Linked DNA regions of Homo sapiens: region 2 is linked to region 1. Evidence: promoter capture Hi-C in 16 types of primary human blood cells and fetal thymus (Javierre and others, 2016). All regions are on one chromosome and are shown on one strand. Each heading gives the region's core, a stretch centred on a gene start or on the middle of the fragment in contact. The rest is flanking DNA. Distances are from core to core; before and after follow the strand shown.

Region 1 (6,059 bases), core at 2,180-4,679:
GAGAAAGAAGAGCAAAGTAAATCCAAATTTAGTAGAAGCCAATGAAATGGGAAAAAGAGAAACTAAGAAAATATTCCAACAAATGTGATGAATGAAATGGACAAATTCCTTGAACAAGTGGATCTGGTACTACTTACAACTTAGGGTAAACTAATTTCAAATTCTACTTCTGGGGCCTTAAAAAAAAAAGAACCCAGAGCAGCAACAAAAACTCAGAAAATGTTATTTAAAAAGAAAAAGAATATTGTCTACAAAAATTATAAAGTGCCTAGGGATAAACTTAACAAAGATATAAGCTCTTTATGTTGAGAAATATAAAACTTTATTGAAAGATTTTTAAAAACTTAAATAGTTATATTCTTGAACAGGAAATGAGCTTGGTATTGTAAAGATAATAATTCTTCCCAAATTGATCTATAATCTCAATGCAATTATAACCAAAATTCCAAAAGGGTAACTAAATGTTACAGAGGATGCTATTATGGAAGAACAAAGGGCCAAGTATAGTTGACACACTCCTAAAGAACAAGATGTCAAAGACTGCTCTCAAAACTTTGATCATCTTGATGGTGGTTATGGTTTCACAGGTGTATGAATGTCAAATTGTACACTTTATATGCACATTATTGTGTGTCATTTAGACCTAGGTAAAGCTGTTTTAAAAACAAAAACAAAAAAAAGCCCGGCAAAACAAGCCTGGGCAACATAGTGAGACCTTGTTGCTACTAAAAATAAAAAATTAGCTGGGTGTGGTGGCACAAGCCATGGGCCCAGCTACTTGGGAGGCTGAGGCAGGAGGATTGCTTGAGGCCAGGAAGTTGAAGCTGCAGTGAGCAGTGATCACGCCACTACATTCCAGCCTGGGCAACAGAGCAAGACCTGGTCTCAGAAAATATATTAAGCTGGGTGTGGTGGCTCATGCCTGTAATCCCAACACTTTGGGAGGCCAGGGCAGGCAGATTGTTTGAGTTCAGGACTTTGAGACAAGTCTGGGCAACGTGGCAAAACCCTGGCTCTACAAAAAAATTTTAAAAATTAGCTGGGTGTGGTGATGTACACCTGTAGTCTCAGCTACTCAGGAGGCTGAGGTGGGAGGACTGCTTGCCCCTGAGAGGTCAGGGCTGCAGTGAGCTGTAATCATATCACTGCTCTCCAGCCAGGGCAACAGAGCAAGCCCCGTTTCAAAAAAAAAAAAAAAAAAGTTATTTAGCAATATACATACAGACATACAAATGGAAGAGTTAAAAAGCAAAGGAATGATTAACTCAACATGTAAAACGGTAATTACCGGGAGTGAGGGAAAGGGAAGGGTATGTGCCAGTGGGGAAGGGACGCATAGGGAGCTTGTCATGTTCTAGTATAGGTAGTATTCTATTTCTGAAACAGAATGCTGTATGTCTTACTATCATTCTTTTAACTACATGTGTATTTTATACAACCTTTTGCATATATGATAAGTTTCACAATTTTGAAAAAATGAGCGTTTGTAAAGAGGAACACAAAAGAACCAACCATTAGCTAAACTTATTATTTTGGGGGTACTCAAAACCTTTCAAACAGCACTTGATGACTACGATTAAGATCTTTCCTGCTGATTTAAAAATGGCAAAACTCTTCCTCTGTTTGAGACAGACGGGTTTTCAATTTATTTTTTTTTTTTTGGAGACAGGGTCTCACACTGTCACCCAGGCTGGAAGTACAGTGGTGCAATCTTGGCCTCTGCCTCCAGGGTTCAAGCGATCCTCCCACCTCAGCCTCCCTGGGACTACAGGTGCAAGGCACCACCTCTGGCTAATTTTTGTATTTTCTGTAGAGATGGGGTTTCACCATGTTGGCCAGGCTGGTATGGAACTCCTGGGCTCAGGTGATCTGTGCACCTCATCTTCCCAAAAGTGCTGGGATTAAAGACGTGAGCCACCGCACCCGGCCGGTTACCAATTTCAAACAAGAAAAGTAAAAACCAAACAGAAAAGCTATTGCTTACTACCCTAACTTGGTACATTTCTGTGCTTGTTAATAACTAATAATTAACTTGTCCTCTCACAACCACCTTGAGATGCAGGGGTACAGGGTAAATTAGTACTGAGATAGTACCTAGCACTAAAATAGAATTATCTTTCTTGCACACTTTTTCTACAGAGGATGATAGTTTTTCCCTTCAAAGCACTGGTAATAGTCTTATTTTCTTCCTTCCATTTCTGCTTACTTGGTTACTGTCTTTATCAAACTATTAAAATAGTAAATACGACCAGATGCGGTGGCTCACACCTATAAACCAAGCACTTTGGGAGGCCCAGACAGGAGATCGCTTGAGCTCAGTGGGGCCCGGCTGCAGTGAGCCGTGATGGCACCACTGCACTCCCGCCTAGGTGGCCGAGAGAGACCCTGTCTCAAACAAAATAAAAAATAAAAATAATAAAATAGTAAATATACTGCAATTGTCTCCACCTCACTTCACCTGACAACACTATTTTGCTGTAATGGCCATAGAATCTTGATCTGACCACCGCCCATAGTAAGCAGGGAACTCAGCCTTCCAACATTAATTAAGAGCCCAACAATTTTAGGTTTCAGTTAGAAAGGACAGCTGCGCTTCAGGCTTGGTTCTTGCCAACTACTCAGCTATTTTGGATGAGCTGCACATTTTGTCTGTAACTTCCTCCATAAGTTTTTAATCAAGAGATCTTCCAGGAATGTAGGGCCTGCTTCACCTTCCACAGCAGCTGCGCAAAACATGCAAAACATACACTTCGATTTGTGTTTTCTGTTAGCTTTAGCTACTTCCCTCAGCCCAGACTCCCTTCAGTCTTTTGTTTTGAATAACAACCTACTGTGAAGCTTCTTAAACACTAGTTTTATTTAAAGCTTGTATTATCCTTTTCCTTTTTTTTTTTTTTTTTTTTGAGACGGCATCTCGCTCTGTTGCCCAGGCTGCAGTGTAGTGGTGCGATCTCTGGCTCACTACAGCCTCCACCTCCCAGGCTCAAGTGAATCTTCCTCCTCAGCCTCCCGAGTAGCTGGGACCACAGGGGCAGGCCAACAAGCCTGGCCTATTTTTGATTTTTTGTAGAGACGAGGTCTTGCTATGTTGCCCAGGATAGTCTGGAACTCTATTATAATCTTTGTCTTAATCTCATGGAGACGCCCCCGTGGTCACTGACTGGAGGAAGGAAATACACATTTTAAAGGTTTTAAATTTCCTATAGAAGGGTCTAGAACGTACCGCGCTATAACGAACATAGTAGTAAGACCACCGCCACACTCCTGAGGAAACAAGGTCACGCCCCTCTGCGGGCCGCTTGATCGGGTCTTTAATTAATCCCGCCGCGGCCTTCCCGCCTACCCCCGAGCGCGCACTTCCGGTCGCGAGGGCGCTCGGGAGCGCGCCCCGCGAGCCTCCACCAACCAGCGGCTCCGCCTGGCCAGACAGAGTGCGCGCGCGCACGTTGTGCGCAGGTTCGAATCTCCGCCGCTTCGCGGTTGCTTCTCAACGTCCGGGCCGCATCTCGGCGGCGGCGAGGGCTGAGCGCGGGAGCTGCCTCCGAGCCGGAGCCCCAGCCCTAGGCCCTGCGCGAGCTGCCCCGCCCTACCCCCTCCAGCGTCCTGTCGCCTCCTCGCCCGACTTCGGCCTGTCCCTCTCTCACGCGCTCAGTCCTCGCTCTTCGCCCCCCGCAGCTATCGGCACTCGGTCTCCCGCGCCTGGCGGGCTCCGCCCGAGCCTCTGGGCCCATGGCCAAGCGGCGTGCGGCCGAGCCGGTGACGTTCCACGTGCCTTGGAAGCGGCTCCTGCTTTGCGACTTCGCTGAGCAGCCGCCGCCACCGCCTCTCTGGATCCGGCCGCCCGGGGTCGCGCATGCTGGGCAGCTCCTCGGCGTCCCAGAGCAGCACCGAAAGCGCAAAATCGACGCAGGGACCATGGCAGAGCCCTCGGCTTCGCCCAGCAAGCGCCGTGACAGCGGGGACAACAGCGCCCCGAGCGGCCAGGAGCGTGAGGACCACGGTCTGGAGACAGGCGATCCGCCGCTGCCGCCGCCGCCCGTACTGCCGGGGCCGGGGGAGGAGCTCCCGGGCGCCCGGCTCCCGGGGGGCGGTGGCGACGACGGGGCGGGGCGCGCAGGACCCCCGCGGGGAGACTGGGGGGTCGCATCGCGCCAGGTAGGGGCTGGGGGCGGGTGGGCTGAGGGGCGAAGGGGCTTGCCTTTTCCCCACACACACAAAACGCCCCGGTTCCCACTCATGACTTGTGTAGGTTAAGACGCCTGAGGGGGTTGAAAGAAGGGGTCACCGCTCCGGGAGAGGACGCCGACCGCCAGAAGCACACCCCGAGAGTCCGATGGGCAGAAAGCACTGGGCTGGGCGAGGGGGAAACAGACCGTGGTCGGGAGCGATAGAAGTGGCCTTGCGGCGTCAGCGCCGCGCTCCGTAAAAGGGAAACGGGACCGTGGGTCGTGGCGGGCTGTGAGCATGGCGAGAACGCAGACCGTCAGGGCATAGGTTCAGCCCAAAGACAAACGACAGATAAAGGTGTAGAGGGCCTTCCTGGGTTTAACGATGATTAGTCTAGAATTCGGGATAGAGTTCTTTTTCTAGAGGGAGACCAGTGTGGTAGCCATTGATTAATTGAACGTCCTACCGGCTGGTACAGCTTCTGGAGAAAAGGATGGACCACCGTACCTTGGTCAAAGCTTTGTTTTAACTCATAGTGTTAAATCTGATCCTAGGCAAAAGTATCATTGAAAATTAATTTGGGGGCGGGGCGTGGTGTCTCACGCCTGGAATCCCAGGACTTTGGGAGGCCACGGCGGGTGGATCACCTGAGGTCGGGAGTTCGAGACCAGCCTGGCCAATAGGGTGAAACTCTGTCTCTATTAAAACACAAAAACTAGCTGGGTGTGGTGGTGTATGCCCGTAATCACAGCTACTCGGGAGGCTGAGGCACAAGAATCACTTTAACCTGGGAGATGGCGGTTGCAGTGAGCTGAGATTGGGCCAGTGCACTCCAGCCTGGGCCACAGAGTGAGACGCTGTCTCAAAAAAAAAGAAAAGAAAAGAAAGAAAAAAGAAAATTAATTTGGGCCTTAAGGCGTATATGAGAATCATTGGCGGGTTTTTATTCAAGACATGAGCCTGCCTCATCTCTGCATGTAAGAATCCTGAGAAGATCTAGGTATGCCTCGGTTTGCCTAGATCTCTGCTGCCCGGCCGCTAGCCGGTAAGAACACTTGAAACGTGACTAGTCCAAATGGAAATGTGCTCTAAGTTTAAAATATACACGAAATTTCGTGGATTTAATAAATGAAGATAAAATAGCTCAATTTTATATTGATTACACATGAAATAACTTGGCTATATTGAAGAAAATATATTAAAATTAATACCAGAAGTTTCTTTTACTTTTTAAATACAGCTACTAGAAAATTTTAAATTATGTTTTTGGAGCATTATATATTTATTGGACAGCTTTGGTCTAGACTTAGGAATTCATACTACTTTTTCACAATCCTGAATGGCAGGGGACTTGGGAGATGAAGAACCAAGTACAGGTTTCTCAGAATTCACCAAATTCTCTTCAGCTGTCTGATAGCATCCTCCCAACGTTTTTCTATTTTCTCAAGTATCTTATGTCAGGGTTTTCAAATACCTTTCCAAAAAAATAAATGAAATTTCTTAGGCATGACTTGTTCATGTGAAAAATCCAATAAAATAACGAGAGTTTTATAGTTGGGAAAGACTTTTTTTTTTTTTTTCCTATGGTTGAAACATGAGCCTTATTTAAACTTTTTCTTCAGATTGCTCTCAGATATTCAAAATCAACTGAAAACAGATGGATAGTCTTCTAAACCATCCATCCATAATGGATATGGAGATTAGGGACTGTGTAGTTTGAAAACTTTTTGAAAGCTCTTCAGACCATTTTAGTACTCCACTCATGCATAGGCTTGTCTCCTACCAGAATACAGAATACACTGTCTATACTATGCCACACAGTGATAAGAGGGAAATATGGAAATGGCAGTAGGCAAAGCGTAAGAGTTCTCTAGTAGCCTGAAACGGTGATG
Region 2 (6,059 bases), core at 2,110-4,609, 4.7 Mb after region 1:
TTCTACTTTTTATCTCCTTTCCCTATTCTCTCCTTAGACCTCTAAATTCTACCTATAATGTACTTCTTTCAGTTTTGTGACTATAATTCCTTATTGCTCTGAAGTATTTGCACATGTTATTCCTTCAGCCTCCAAGTGTCTTCCTCCACTCCCAACTCCATTTGACTTGGTTCACTCACTACTCTCTTCCAGGCCATTTACATTCTCTAACTACCCATCTTATTTCCTTGCTAATTCTCTAAGCGCATCTTTCTCTACCTCATGCCTAAAACTCAAAATCCCCTCATTAAAATAAACAGCATCTCACCAACCTCTGCACTTCCAGCTACCTTCTCTTTCTTCTCTTTGCATCCGGCCTGCAAAGTTTTCTGCTTCCACTGCTTCATTAAAAGGTCAAAGATTTCCCAATTGCTAAATGCAGTGGGCTCTTTTCAGTCCCGCTATCTGACTTCAATGTAGCAGGTGATATTTTTGAAACATTCTTTTTCCTTGGCTTCTTTGATAATTGTCTCCCACTGTTTTCATCTTACCTCCCTGAATAGTTCCTTCTGACTTTGAGTCCTTCTTCAGTTCACCCTTAATGTAGGCATTCTCCCAAGACTCTGTACATGGTCTTCTAGTTCTTCAATTCATAATTCCTATTGGGCAATCATAACCAGTTCTGCAACTTCATCAATCACCTGTATGCATGACTCCCAAAACTCTCATCTGTTCATATTTTCCTCTAAGCTCCAGACTCCTACATTCTGCCTATAGAACATCTCTCTTAGATGCCACAAAGGAAACTTTAAGTCACAGGATCTAAGAGGCATTTATTATTCTCCTCAAACTGCTCCCTCTTCTGAATAGCACCTGATCAATTAGCTAAGGCTCTTACACTTGGGAAAAATGCTGCATTCCTCCCTTTCCCCCATGCCTCACAACTATTCTGTAGCTGGATCCTGTCAAATCTCATTCCTTCACACTCTGATCATCTCTTGCCTTCGTATTGTCTTTTTGCTTCCAATCTTGCACCCTTTCTAAATCATCCTCTACAGTGCTTCCAGAATAACACAGAACACACGTCATTCCCTGTTGAAAACACACCGTGGCTGCCTACAGGATGATGTCGGAACTTCTTAGCATAGTAAACATACAGGCCCCTGAATGGTTGCTTACCCTTTGTCCAAATACTCATTCACATCCTATATTCTTGCCTTACTAAAATACTTGACGCTTTCTAAATATACCAAACTATTTCAGACAGTTCCTTCTGTCTTCAATGCTCTTCACTTCTTGCAAGACTTTCCTATCTTCTTAGGCGGGTGCAGTGGCTCATGTCTGTAATCCCAGCACTTTGGGAGGCCGAGGTGAGTTTCTTGAGCCCAGAAGTTCGAAACTAGCCTGGGCAACATGGTGAAACCCCATCTCTACAAAAAAATTTTAAAACATTAGCCAGGTATGGTACGCGCCTATAGTCCGAGCTACTTGAAAGGCTGAGGTAGGAGGATCACTTGAGAAGGGGAGGTCCAGGCTTCACGGAGCCCTGATCATGCCACTGAGCTCCAGCGTGGGCAACAGAGCAAGACCAAAGACTTTCATATCTTCTTTACAAAGCCCTTTCTCATACTCGTAGACAAAACTAACCACTTCATCCTTTGTGAAGGATCCTGATATATGTTGTTATGGTATCTAACTCATTTGATTACATTTATCTTTCCTGATCTGGATTCAAATAGCAATGCAACTATGTAACAGCTGCGTAAAACTGGGCAAAATAACCTACTGAGCTTCTTTCAGCAATGGAAATTATCAAGATAGAGTTGTTATGAAGAAAGAATGAGTGCACTATGTACCTGGCACACAATAGGTGCTTGAAAAAAAAAGGTAGTATTGTTATTACAATTCTGTTATCCTTATGCCACTATGTGCAAGCTTTAAAAAGACTTCCGGCCGGACATGGTGGCTCACGCCTGTAATCCCAGCACTACGGGAGGCCGAGGCGGGCAGATCACCTGAGGTCAAAAGTTCCAGATCAGCCTGGTCAACACGGTGAAACCGCGAGTCTACTAAAATACAAAAAAAAATAGCTGGGCGTGGTGGCGGCTGGCTGTAATCCCAGCTACGCGGGAGGCTGAGGCAGGAGAATTGATTGAAACTGGGAGGCGGAGGTTGCAGTGAGCCGAGATTGCGCCACTACCTTCCAGCCCGGACGACAGTATGACACTCCGTCTCAAAAACAAAAACTAGCCGGGCGTGGTGGCGCGCGCCTGTAGTCCCAGCTACTCGGGAGGCTGACCCAGAAGAATCGCTTGAAACCGAGAGGCGGAAGTTGCAGTGGGCCGAGATCGCGGCACAGCACTCCATCCAGCGTGGGCTACAGGAGCGCAACTCCGTCTCAAAAAAAAAGAGGAAAAAAAAAAAAAAAAAGACCTGGAACAAATGAACTGGAAGGTGCTAGGCAAATACATGATATATTTAAAACTTACTAAATTCTAAAGCGGTAACTAGTTGTCTGAAGGGGAGAGGGAGGAACCAGGGAAGAAAACTGGGTTTAGTGGGGTCAAGGGTTTGTAGGGAGGTCCAACAATTGCCAGTAAGTGTTTAATTTTTTTGTACCTGTAACCTCCATTCCCGAACAACCTTTACCGTCTTATCTACTCCTCTCTGGCAAATGCCTACCCTAAGAATCCGCCACAGCATCACTATCACGCCGAATTAACTGTTGCCTCCTCTTAAGTTCCCGGGGACAATACTTCTGTGAATTCCAGACCAGGGCCGCTATGGATCGCGACTCCCAGCGGGCAGAGACCTACTCCCTCCTACAACCACTACCTGCTACATGACACCTTTGGAAAACCTTGGCTGACTAAATTTAAAAACCACATCACCCAAGGCACACATCTCCTACATCATACACGTCAATCTCCACAGCCTACGTAGGAAAATCCTCAAGGGAACCCCGGCACGAATTCAAGGCCAGACCCACAAGCCAGGTACACACCCACACGCCCACGCCCGCGCGCTGCCGGAGCCCCGGGGCCTGCTGGCCAGCACACCTCCACACCCGCGGCGCGGCCTCCGGGCAACTTACAGGAAGTTCTCCATCGAGATGCGGACGATAGAGCCTTCCACGAAAGGCCCGGACGACTGCAACAGCGGCAGCTGCGGGGCCGAATTCTTCCTCTTGCTCGGGACCTCCGACGAAGGGTCTCTCGGGAGAGCTCTCTTGGAAGGCTGGGGGCTTGGAGTTGACGTCTTCTTGCTCGGAGTCGCCATCCTGGCTTCCTCAGCGTCCCACAGCGACTTCCGTTCCCACCGTCCGGCAGCCCAGGCGCCCAAGCGCCCATCCACCCAGGCGCCCCGCTCCCGCGCGAACTGCCGCGAACTGTTACCGCGCGCTCGCTCCCGCGATCTCGCGCCGCGCCTGCGCAGTTCAGGTCCGGCGACGTCAGCAGGCCCGCCCCGCCCCTCCCGCGCTCCGCCGCGCTGTGCGAGGCCCAGACTGAGGGCGAAACAGCAGGCAGGACTGGGTGGAGACGTTCGGGGACGTGGCAACTGGAGTTTCTTCTCCGTATATTTCGGCATTCAGTTCCTTTTTTTTTTTGTTTTAACTCAGGAAAAAATCTCAATTGCGTTTAGTATTTTGAAAGCCACTTTATTGCTTCCCGAGCCTCAGTCATGTGTGGTGGGAGGCTGCTGTGGGTGGCACCTGGGGCGTCCACGGCCGCCAAGGCGGGAGGACGTCAGGCCCTGCTTGCTCCCACCCCTTCCAGGTGAGAGCTCCCGGGCACGCCCGTCGTTGGCTCTTCGTCCTCTTGGTGTTCTTCCCTGTTGCTTCAAATCAGGTTCCTGTCTCAAAAATCCGAAAAAGAAATCCTCCCAAATGACTCTGTGCCCGACGCTCCGTTAAGGCATCGTGCTAGGCGTTCTCAAACTCGTGAAATGACTACACTGCACAGGTTAACCTCATTGCTACTCTTCCCCTTGCCTCCTAATTCTCTGGTTAAACTTCCGCCCCCGAGGTTTCTAGAAATCCCTGAGCTGGAATGCGCTGCCTTCATTAAGAGGGTGTTCTGCTTCCGTCTGCTCACATTCATCTAGTAAGCCCTCTCGTTAAAGAGGAGGCAGCACACCGAGGCCTGTCTAGAACTTCTTTCATTTAACCAACAGTGAATATCTAATCTACAAGAAACTGGAGCCGTGGCAGTTTAGGAGCCTGCCAAGGTTGCATCCCTGGGAGCTTATTTTCTATTGTGGGAGACAGGAAAAGAACAAGTGAATCAACTGTGAAATTAAATAATTCAAACTTAAAGCTGTTGGAACTTTAAATTATTCTGAGCCTTGCGAAGAATGTGGCGATGGGGCCTGAGTCCCATGGCATACAGCTGCAATGTCTGCCTTGTTTTTTCCTATAATCAGGAAGACCAAACAGAGACAGAGGTAAGACCCCCTCAGATCACTACCCCCTTCATAAATTAATATAGTTATCTTCCTTGGAATGTAGCTATCTATAACTAATCTAATCGCTGTAATTTATGCACTGCTCTTGTATTGAAAATGTACTCCTGCTGAACCTTCTCTGTTTCTGCCTGTGTAAATGAAACCTTAACTTCACTTTGGAACATTGACCCTATTTGTTTGGAGTTGGTGTTTCCAGGTGGCTGTCCTCAAGCTTTGCGTTAGAATAAACTCTATACTTAATGATATTTTCTGAATTTCACTACTTAAGGCTGACACAACAAATGATTAGCATAATGTCAGACTGTGACAGGTGTTAGGAAGAAAACAAAATGAACCTGATGGGTGGGAGGTACGGAAGGCCTCTTAGAGAGGTGGTGGTGTTTAAGATAAACTCTGAAGGACGAGAAGAAACTGTGACGATCTGAGAAAAGAGCACCCCAGGCAAAAGAATTTTGCTGGAACATACCAGTAAGGACAAAAGCTCTGAGGTGGGAAGGCCAGTGTTGCTGCAGAGCAGTGAACAAGGTTGCAGAGCAGAACCTTGTCCATCGTGGAAAAGCCTGAATTTTATTTTTAAAGCAATGGGAAGCCATTGCAAAGTTTTAAGCAGGAGAGGGCCATGTTCTGACTAAAGCTTTTAATTTTTTTATTTGATTTTTTTTATTTGATTTTTTTGAGACAGAGTCTCACCCAGTCGCCCAGGCTGGAGTGCAGTAGTGCCACCTCAGTTCACTGCAAACTCTGCCTCCCTCGTTCAAGCGGTTCTTCTGCCTCAGCCTCCCGAGTAGCTGGGATTACAGGTGCATGCCACCACACCTGGCTAATTTTTGTATTTTTAGTAGAGACGAGGTTTCACCATTTTGGCCAGGCTGGTCTGTAACTCCTGACCTCAAGTGATCCGCCCACCTCGGTGTCCCGAAGTGCTGGCACTACAGGCATGAGCCACTGTGCCTGGCCTTAAAGTTTTTAAATAATAATTCTGGTTGCTGTGTGGAAAATGGATTAGAGGGCACCAAGTGTGGAAGTGGAAGGCCACTTAGAAAGCTATTGCAGTAGATCCCTGATTCCTGACTCCTAGACCAAAGCTCCTTTCCCAGGTCTCTGCTGCTTCCTCTCACACAAGGACTCCGCTCCAGAGAAAATAGAGTAAGTAAAAAGCATGTGAACTTGTCGTAGTTACTGGAAATTTTCTTAAATGCAAATGAAAATGAGAGAGACGGGAAGGAAAAATCATTGAAAAAATTCAGACTGCAGCAGCAGCCTACCTGAAAAGTCACAGCAACAGGCAAAAAATAAAACAACCTTGGGAAAACCTCAGGTTGCACCTGGACAGATAGACAGCTTTAAGCACAGATAAACAAGCACAGGAGTGGGAGAGTCTCGACTTCATACTCATACAATGGGCCCCAGTAAAAACTGTGAGACTTAATAAGTACATTCCTTTCCGTTTAGGCCCACTAAGATACGGAAGCGAGAAGCTTATACAGGGAGGGTTGGGGGATGCCTGCAGCTGCAAGAAAATGTCTGGGAACAGACACAGAAACTTAAGCGACACAAAGCAGCACAGAGCAGCATAAACTAAAAGCCTGCTTATGTGATCAAGGAATTGGGTAAAG

The links. Contacts are between HindIII fragments. The CHiCAGO score rates a contact against its expected background, and 5 or more counts as called.
Region 2: a contact is called between the fragment with the promoter of SMC5 here and the fragment with the promoter of C9orf40 in region 1, in 1 of 17 cell types (total B cells). The highest score is 5.7, in total B cells.

What each region holds. Positions count from the first base shown.
Region 1 is chr9:74,950,282-74,956,340 of GRCh38, reverse strand. C9orf40 (chromosome 9 open reading frame 40) reads left to right here and starts at 3,429. Exons shown (of 2, transcript NM_017998.3): 1 at 3,429-4,155. The coding sequence starts at 3,730. It overlaps CARNMT1-AS1 (CARNMT1 antisense RNA 1), which reads right to left and starts at 3,376. Exons shown (of 5, transcript NR_121183.1): 1 at 3,224-3,376. RefSeq lists silencers at 3,448-3,657, 3,928-4,137 and an enhancer at 4,468-4,537. The HindIII fragment of the contact is 1,820 bases long and covers 2,868-4,687 here.
Region 2 is chr9:70,256,278-70,262,336 of GRCh38, reverse strand. It overlaps SMC5 (structural maintenance of chromosomes 5), which reads right to left and starts at 3,359. Exons shown (of 25, transcript NM_015110.4): 1 at 3,074-3,359. The coding sequence starts at 3,258. SMC5-DT (SMC5 divergent transcript) reads left to right here and starts at 3,463. Exons shown (of 4, transcript NR_039990.1): 1 at 3,463-3,941; 2 at 4,402-4,422. RefSeq lists enhancers at 3,073-3,272, 3,603-3,792 and a silencer at 3,313-3,532. The HindIII fragment of the contact is 2,740 bases long and covers 1,917-4,656 here.